Linked DNA regions of Homo sapiens: region 1 is linked to region 2. Evidence: promoter capture Hi-C in 16 types of primary human blood cells and fetal thymus (Javierre and others, 2016). All regions are on one chromosome and are shown on one strand. Each heading gives the region's core, a stretch centred on a gene start or on the middle of the fragment in contact. The rest is flanking DNA. Distances are from core to core; before and after follow the strand shown.

Region 1 (3,402 bases), core at 728-3,227, 330 kb before region 2:
GAAGGGGATGGGGTAGGAAAAGGCAGAACAAGAGGCTGGGGGGTCAGGTTGAAAGGTCCTGGGAAAGCAATAAAAGACGTCGCAGCCCCAGAGTATGTGTGAAACGCAAGAAGGAAGCAGACCCCACGTGCAGGCCGTGAGGCTCAGCGCTCAGTCTTAGCCGCAGCCGTGGTGCACCTTAACTTTCACTCTGCTCTGCACCCTTTCTCCCTCCAGCCCCCAGCGTGCACCCCTAAAAGAATCGAGCTGCAAATTCCTGACAGACCCCTCACAAGCTGCTCAGATGCTCGGGGGTAGGGTTAACTAGAGAATTGGGGGGAAGGGATCCCCTTAAAGAACACCCTGAAGTCCCAAAGTTTAGGCAAGTGAGGTACTTACAGAATTTAAAGACACACCCAAACAGTCATCAAGAGAAAAGGCATGTCAATATTTTTAAACATCAAAATGAATGCAAACAAATTTATGAACAAAATACCAAAGTTTCAAATAAAGACAGGCTCTGGCAAGAGGCCTGAGGTGGGGGCCTTGGAGGCGAGTTCTGCAAGGGCAGGGTTGAATGCAAAGGGTCGCCTGATGCTGTGTTTTCATCACAATCTGGGAGGTATGCAGCTCCTGAATTTCAAGGGGAACCCTGGGGTATTCAGCTGCTCTGGGGGTCCGTGGGCTGGGGCTGGCCTGCTCCAGACCTGGCAGCTGCTGAAAAGCATCAGGGTGGACAGATGACGTTGGAAGCACTCACAAATTCTGCCTTTTGGTTTGACCCAAGCTATTGCTTTTAAGTTTGTAACAGCCTACAGTTCCCCAAAAGACACGTAATACCACGGAACAGGTTTATTTCACCCTGGCCACTATATATCGGCAAAACAACTATATGATGGGAAGCAGTAGTGGATAGCATTTGGATGCTATTCAAATGGTCTGAGATTTATTCAAGGCTCCAAACATCTCTGAGAGAGGACTTGGGGAATATTTGGCCAGCAAATGGCAGAAACATGGCGGTCCACGAGCAAAGCCACCCGATTCAGGCACATCTGTGAAAGAAAAAGGGGACACCACCAGGCAAGTAGGAGGAGCACCGCGTGGCATTTATGGAGATGACTCGTTCACCAGGTTCCCACAGGGCTTTCAGCATGCTGCTGAATTAATCTCCACCCAGGATCTCCGAGACCCGGGGACGCGTCACGTCGTCATTTCCTAGGGGGATCAGGAACTCAGGGGAGCCCGAGTCCTGGAAGGTTCCTGATTGGAAGTCTCGCCAAGCTGGTCAGGCGACTGGACTGGAGGGAAACATCCTCTGGTTTACTGATTTTGTGGATTTGGGCTTTCACAAAGTCATCTTTTCTTCCAAGAACGGCATGGGGTGGGCTGCCTCCCAAGCCATAACATGTGTGGGCTGAGGGGCCCCTACACCCCGCAAGTTTCTTGCACGATCGGGAGGTCTCATCTCAGGCTCCCACCCAGCCGTTTCCTGGGCTGAAGGCCAGGAGGTCCCAGTTAACAATAGGGTTGTCCCAGGCCATGCTTCCGGAGGGGCAGAGACGGCTTCTCTGGGAGGTGGCCCATGCCCCAGGCCTTCAGGACTCCACAGGAGGAAGCTGGGGCTAGGGGCTTCCAGGAGAAGCCAGGGGGCTGAGGCAAGGCCTTCCCAGGAGCAGGGAAGAGTCTGGAGCCCTGGAAGGGGTCAGGCTGGTACGTGGCAGCCAGCCTCGGGGTCCCAGAGCCATGAACAGCTCCCGGTGGCGAGCAGAGCCACTTCTGGGGTAAGTGGAGGGTCTGCTGTCTGCCAGGGCCTAGGTCCCACCTCCATCCTCTGAAGGCCTCCCTGCTCCCTCCACCTTGGCCTCCGACTCCCCCAGCATGGTTGAAGGCCGCTCACCAGCTGAAGGCAAACAGCTTCTCCCGCAAACTGATGAGCAACTCTTTCCCAAACCAGGAAAGAAAATGGCTCCCTTCCCTCGAGGGGCTCCAACTGCCACATAACTTCTGGGAGTCTCCTCACGGTACCTGGGGCTTCTAGAACCTTCCCCTTGGGACCCAAGTAACCAATGATAGCGCAGCAAATGAGGAACCAACCGTCACCCCACAGTGGAAAGGCTCTTAGATGATCATTTTGAGGGGAGGTTGGAGGGGGGACAGGGTCGCGCTCTGTTACCCAGGCTGGAGTGCAGTGGTACAATCATAACTCACTGCAGCCTCAAACTCCTGGGCTTACGTGATCCCCCCCCCTCAGCCTCCTGAGAAGTTAGGACAACAGACGCACATCACCACACCTGGCTAATTTTTGTACTTTTTGTAGAGATGAGGTCTCACTCTGTTGCCCAGGCTGGTCTCAAACTCCTGGCCTCAAGCAATCCTCCCAAAGTGGAAAGGAAGACATTATCTCTGTTTACAATAAGGTGATCTTGTATGTAGAAAATCCCAAGAAATCCATAAAATTGTAGAGCTAATAGAGGAATTCAGCAAGTTTGCAGTATACAAGATATTTGAAAATTAATTATATTTCTCTGTAATTATATTATGAACAATCTGATGATGAAATTTAGAAAACAATTGTCCCCATAATGAACAATCTGATCATGAAATTTAGAAAACAACTCCCATTTACAACAGCATCAAAATAATTTCGTTTACAATAGCGTCAAAAACAACAAAATACTTAGGAATAAACTTTAAAAAGAAGTGTTAAGACTTGTACACTGAAAACTGCAAAACATCATGGAAATAAAGACAACCTAAATCAATGGAAGGACATGCTGTGTTCATGGGTTAGAAGATTGTTAAGACGGGCCAGGCGTGATGGCTCACGCCTGTAATCCCAGCACTTTGGGAGGCCAAGGCGGGTGGATCACGAGGTCAGGAGATCGAGACCATCCTGGCTAACACGGTGAAACCCCATCTCTACTAAAAATACAAAAAAATTAGCCGGGCGTGGTGGTGGGTGCCTGTAGTTCCAGCTACTCAGGAGGCTGAGGCAGGAGAATGGCATGTACCTGGGAGGCGGAGCTTGCAGTGAGCCGAGATCCCGCCATTGCCCTCCAGCCTGGGAGACAGAGTGAGACTCCGTCTCAAAAAAAAAAAAAAAAGAAGATTGTTAAGATGACGACAGTTCTCCTCAAGTTGATCTGCAGATTCAACACAATCCTTATCAAACTCTCAGCTGCCTTTTTTGTAGAAATGACCCTAGATTTTATAGGGAAGTATGAGGGAACAAAAACCATCCAAACAACTTTGAAAAAGAACAAAGTCTGAAGACACACACTTCCTGATTTCAAAACTCACTACAAAGCTACAGTTATCAAGACAGTGCTACCAGCATAACAATAGACAGAGATCACTAGAATAGAATTGAGGTTCCAGAAATAAATGCATCCATTTATGGACGATTGAGTTAGCAAAGGTGCC
Region 2 (3,838 bases), core at 973-3,472:
TAGGAGGCAGTGGGCAAGCGGCAACGCTGTGGTGCCCAGGACGCCGGCAGGCACAGCGCCACGTCCACGGGCACCGCCCGTTCCCACCCTGCAGGACGCCACAGCATCAGACGAGACGGCCCGTGTGAAGCGCCGAGAACAGAGTCTGGCTTCCGGGAGGGCTCAGGAAATGCCGAGAGCTCGGCAGAGACACCCACGTGGTGCTGGATTCCACGCACGAGGAACCGACGGGCAGACGTGGAGCTAAATGATGGTCAACAGCTACGAAGTGCCTGTGCTCTAGAAATGGCCAATTTGATCATGTCACGGGATAAAGTTTCAAAATCAATAAAACCGTGATGAAATGATCAGGAATAAACCTGTCCAGAACTGTTCAAGACCTAAAGGAGATGCACGGGCTGAAGAACAAGGAGCAAATCTGAACGAGGGAGAGGTGTGTCTTCCTGGACAGTTCTCGGGAGAGGAGGAGGGCGGTAAGGACGGGGAGAAGAGGCCGCAGGCTTGGAGTCCAGGAGGAGAATGAACTCCTTTGGTCAGGAGGGGCCCACTGACCAAAGGTCCTAGGAAGAAAAGCCAAAGGAGGTGAGGTGGGGCAAGGGTGTTTGCAAAGGATAGAAAAGTCTAGAATGGCAGAGTATGGTGCTTAAGAGTACTATGTGACCTAGGCCAAGCGACTTCACTCTGGGTGCCTCAGTTTGCTCTTTAGGATGGGGATGATAACAACAGCAGCACCCATCTACAGAGATGCCAGTGCTTGTCACCACGAGAAGCACCTGAAATGCTTGGGGAAGAGGGGTGGTACTTACTGTGTGTGTCTCCAGATGACTGAGCTAGACCACCCAGAACACATTACAGGGAGGCAGAAGCTGACAGGAGGGCAGGAAGCACTGTCTCCAGGGCTGTCTTGAAATCACTGGGCTGACTTTGTAGGTAGTGAGACGCCCATCACTGGAGGCATCCGAACCAAGCCCAGATAAAACAAACATCAGAAACATTTTTAACTCCGTTTCTCTGAGTTCTAGCCTCTAAAAATACCCTCCATGACACGCTGTGTGCTGCCAGAGGCTTGGTTTTCGCCCTCTTCTCCCCAACTCTTAGCCACGTCCCAGTGGTGGCGGGGGGACGGGGGTCCCAAGCCACTGCACTGGGTTTTGGTTTCACTATGTTGCCCAGGCTGGAGTGCAGTGGTGCGATCTCAGCTTACTGCAACCTCCACCTTCCGGGTTCAAGCAATTCTCCTGTCTCAGCCTTCCCAAGTAGCTGGGACTACAGGCGCACGCCACCACACCCAGCTAATTTTTGTATTTTTAGTAGAGACGGGGATTCACCATATTGGTCAGACTGGTTACAAACTCCTGACCTCAGGTGATCCACTCGCCTCGGCCTCCCAAAGTGCTGGGATTCCAGGCATGAGCCACCATGCCCAGCCTGCACTGGGTTTTGGACTGGCTGTGTTAGCATCACCTGGGGCAGGGGTGGGTCACGTTAGAATGAGTCCTGGCTAGGCCCACAGCAGGCTTTTCCACCCGAATACTGGGGCCACAGCTCATGAATCTGTGTGTATCCATATCCTGGGCTGGGTCAGCTCTCCAGGGTGGAGATGGTTGGGCAGGCAGCCTCTGGGGGCAAGCTCGGGCTCAGGCCTCCCCTTGACCAGCTTCACAGAGACAGACACTGAGGCAGACTGACCTCCAAACTCCCAGCTGAGACGCCAGCTCCCCACGTGGGGGGCTTACAGCTGATGCAACCGGTGGCTCACTAAACATACCTCGACAGCGTCCATTACCGCTTCCCTGCAAACCTCAAGATCCTAAGCACCCAGCCTAGGTCAGGGGTCCCCAATCCCAGCAGGTGTTCCTGCTTCCTGAAGACCCCCCAGCCCAACTCCTCCAACAACCATATTCATCTCCAACCCAGTCCCACCAGCTTCCCTCACTCTCCTTCCCATCACACTGCCTGTGGGGAGCCCCGTGGTGCAGGGACTTTGCCGCTGGCCTTGCGAACCCACGGCTTGGAGCCCCTCCTTGGCCCACTCTCCGGGGCCCTCTTGGGAGCCTCGCTAAACAGCTGGGCATGGAAAGAACCCCACCCTCACCACAGATGGGAACAGACACAGAGAGCCTCAGCCCCGCAGTGGTCTCAGGGGCCCACTGACCAAAGGTGGCCGGAATCGCTTCCCCGCCTCCACCTGCAGCCCGGCCTCTGCCCTGGCTGGCTACTCATAGCAGGCTGTTGCCATGGGAACAGCAGAGCTGTTGAGCTGTGACATCATGGCAGGGGTGAGGTCAGGGACAGCTGTGAGCCAGCCAGGGGGCAAGCGTGTAGGTTAGGGGATCAATCATAAAGATTTGGCTCAAGCAGCCGGGAGCCATGGGGGCACCTGAAGGCACTGTTTAAGGAGGTGTGGGTGAACAAGGACAGTGCAATGTACAAATGCTCGTGGCCATACCAGGCAGAGGACATCTTTTTGTCCCCAGCTGGCTGCATGGAGACCTCCCAGGGTGTCATTCTCTCTGAGCTGTCAGGCCATTAAGGAGGTACACTTCAAGGTCAGGGTTCCTGACAACGCCTGCCATCCCTTCTCCTGTAGGGACAGCATCTGTTCACGCTTCTAAACAGCTCCAGAAAGCCATCGTTAAACTGAAACCCACTGGAGGCGGGGGAAGAAAGAATCCCGTCAACCACCTGCCCACACAGGAGGAGAAGCCACACGTACTTGGCCTCGTTTGAGGGCTAGTTCCCCACAGACAGTTTGATCAGAAGGATGGGCGAGGGAAGCTGGCAGGGCGAGGCTGGGGATGAACATGGGACACTGGGGGAGTCTGGCCGGTGCAGGGGGTTTCCAGGAAGCAGGAGTAGCTGCTGGAAATGGGGGCCCCTGACCTAGTCTGGGTGGTTGGCATCTTAAGGTCTGTGGTAAAGTGATGACTGGCATTGTCAAGATATGTTTTTTGTTTGTTTTTTAGACAGTCTTGCTCTGTTGCCCAGGCTGGAGTACGGTGGCGCAATCTCGGCTCACTGCAACCTCTGCCTCCCGGGTTCAGGGATTCTAGTGCCTCAGCTTTCTGAGTAGCTGGGACTACAGGTGCATGCCACCATGCCCAGCTAATTTATGTGTGTGTGTGTGTGTTTTAGCAGAGACGGGGTTTTACCATGTTGGCTAGGCGGGTCTTGAACTCCTGACCTCAAGCGATTCCCCTGCCTCGACCTCCCAAAGTGCTAGGATTATAGGCACGAGCCACCGCCCCCAGCCCAAGATATGTTTTAGTAAGCCGCCAGTTGGATCATCTGTAAGCAACTCACTAGAAGCTTCCAGCATCCTCCACAAATTTGACAACTGAGAAATGTGGCTGGGAAATCATGATTTGGGTCCGAAGAAGTGAAAGCAACAATCCTCAGGTTGTTGTTTCTTGAGAGAAGAAGGTAAACAGCAGGAATTCGGCTGAGGTGTCCAAATCTCGGGGAGGATGAATTCTCAGGAGAGCTGAACCTGAGACAAAGCCCTTTGTCCTGGGCTGGAAGGACCCTGGAAAGGTTATCTGGTCCCTGACTCAGGGAAGGGAGGCATTCTCCCTGCAGGAATGTTCTCGATCACAGTCCACCACCACCCCCCTACCCCCGCCCACTTTTGGAGTCCATCTTCGCAGCCCTTGATGATTCATTTTATGTCAGCTTGACGGGCTAAGGGATGCTCAGATAGCTGGGAAAACGTGATTTCTGGGTGGCTCTGGGAAGAGACTGGCATCTGAACCGGGGGACTGAGTAAGAAGATCCCTCCTCGCCAGGTGGGGCACCATCACTCAATCTGTTGAAAGCCCGGACAGAACAAAGAGACAGA

Evidence for each region. The method cuts DNA at HindIII sites, captures the fragments that hold promoters and counts their contacts. A CHiCAGO score of 5 or more calls a contact.
Region 1: the fragment with the promoter of DNAH17 here is called in contact with the fragment with the promoter of CEP295NL in region 2 in 10 of 17 cell types (total CD4 T cells, non-activated CD4 T cells, total B cells and 7 more); the score reaches 14.8 in total CD4 T cells.

The regions. Positions count from the first base shown.
Region 1 is chr17:78,575,419-78,578,820 of GRCh38, forward strand. DNAH17 (dynein axonemal heavy chain 17) reads right to left here and starts at 1,978. Exons shown (of 81, transcript NM_173628.4): 1 at 1,877-1,978. The HindIII fragment of the contact is 12,238 bases long and covers 1-3,402 here.
Region 2 is chr17:78,900,979-78,904,816 of GRCh38, forward strand. CEP295NL (CEP295 N-terminal like) reads right to left here and starts at 2,223. Exons shown (of 3, transcript NM_001243540.2): 1 at 2,156-2,223; 2 at 807-948. The coding sequence starts at 850. All of the region lies in intron 1 of TIMP2 (TIMP metallopeptidase inhibitor 2), which reads right to left. RefSeq lists an enhancer at 1,402-2,002. The HindIII fragment of the contact is 4,047 bases long and covers 1-3,307 here.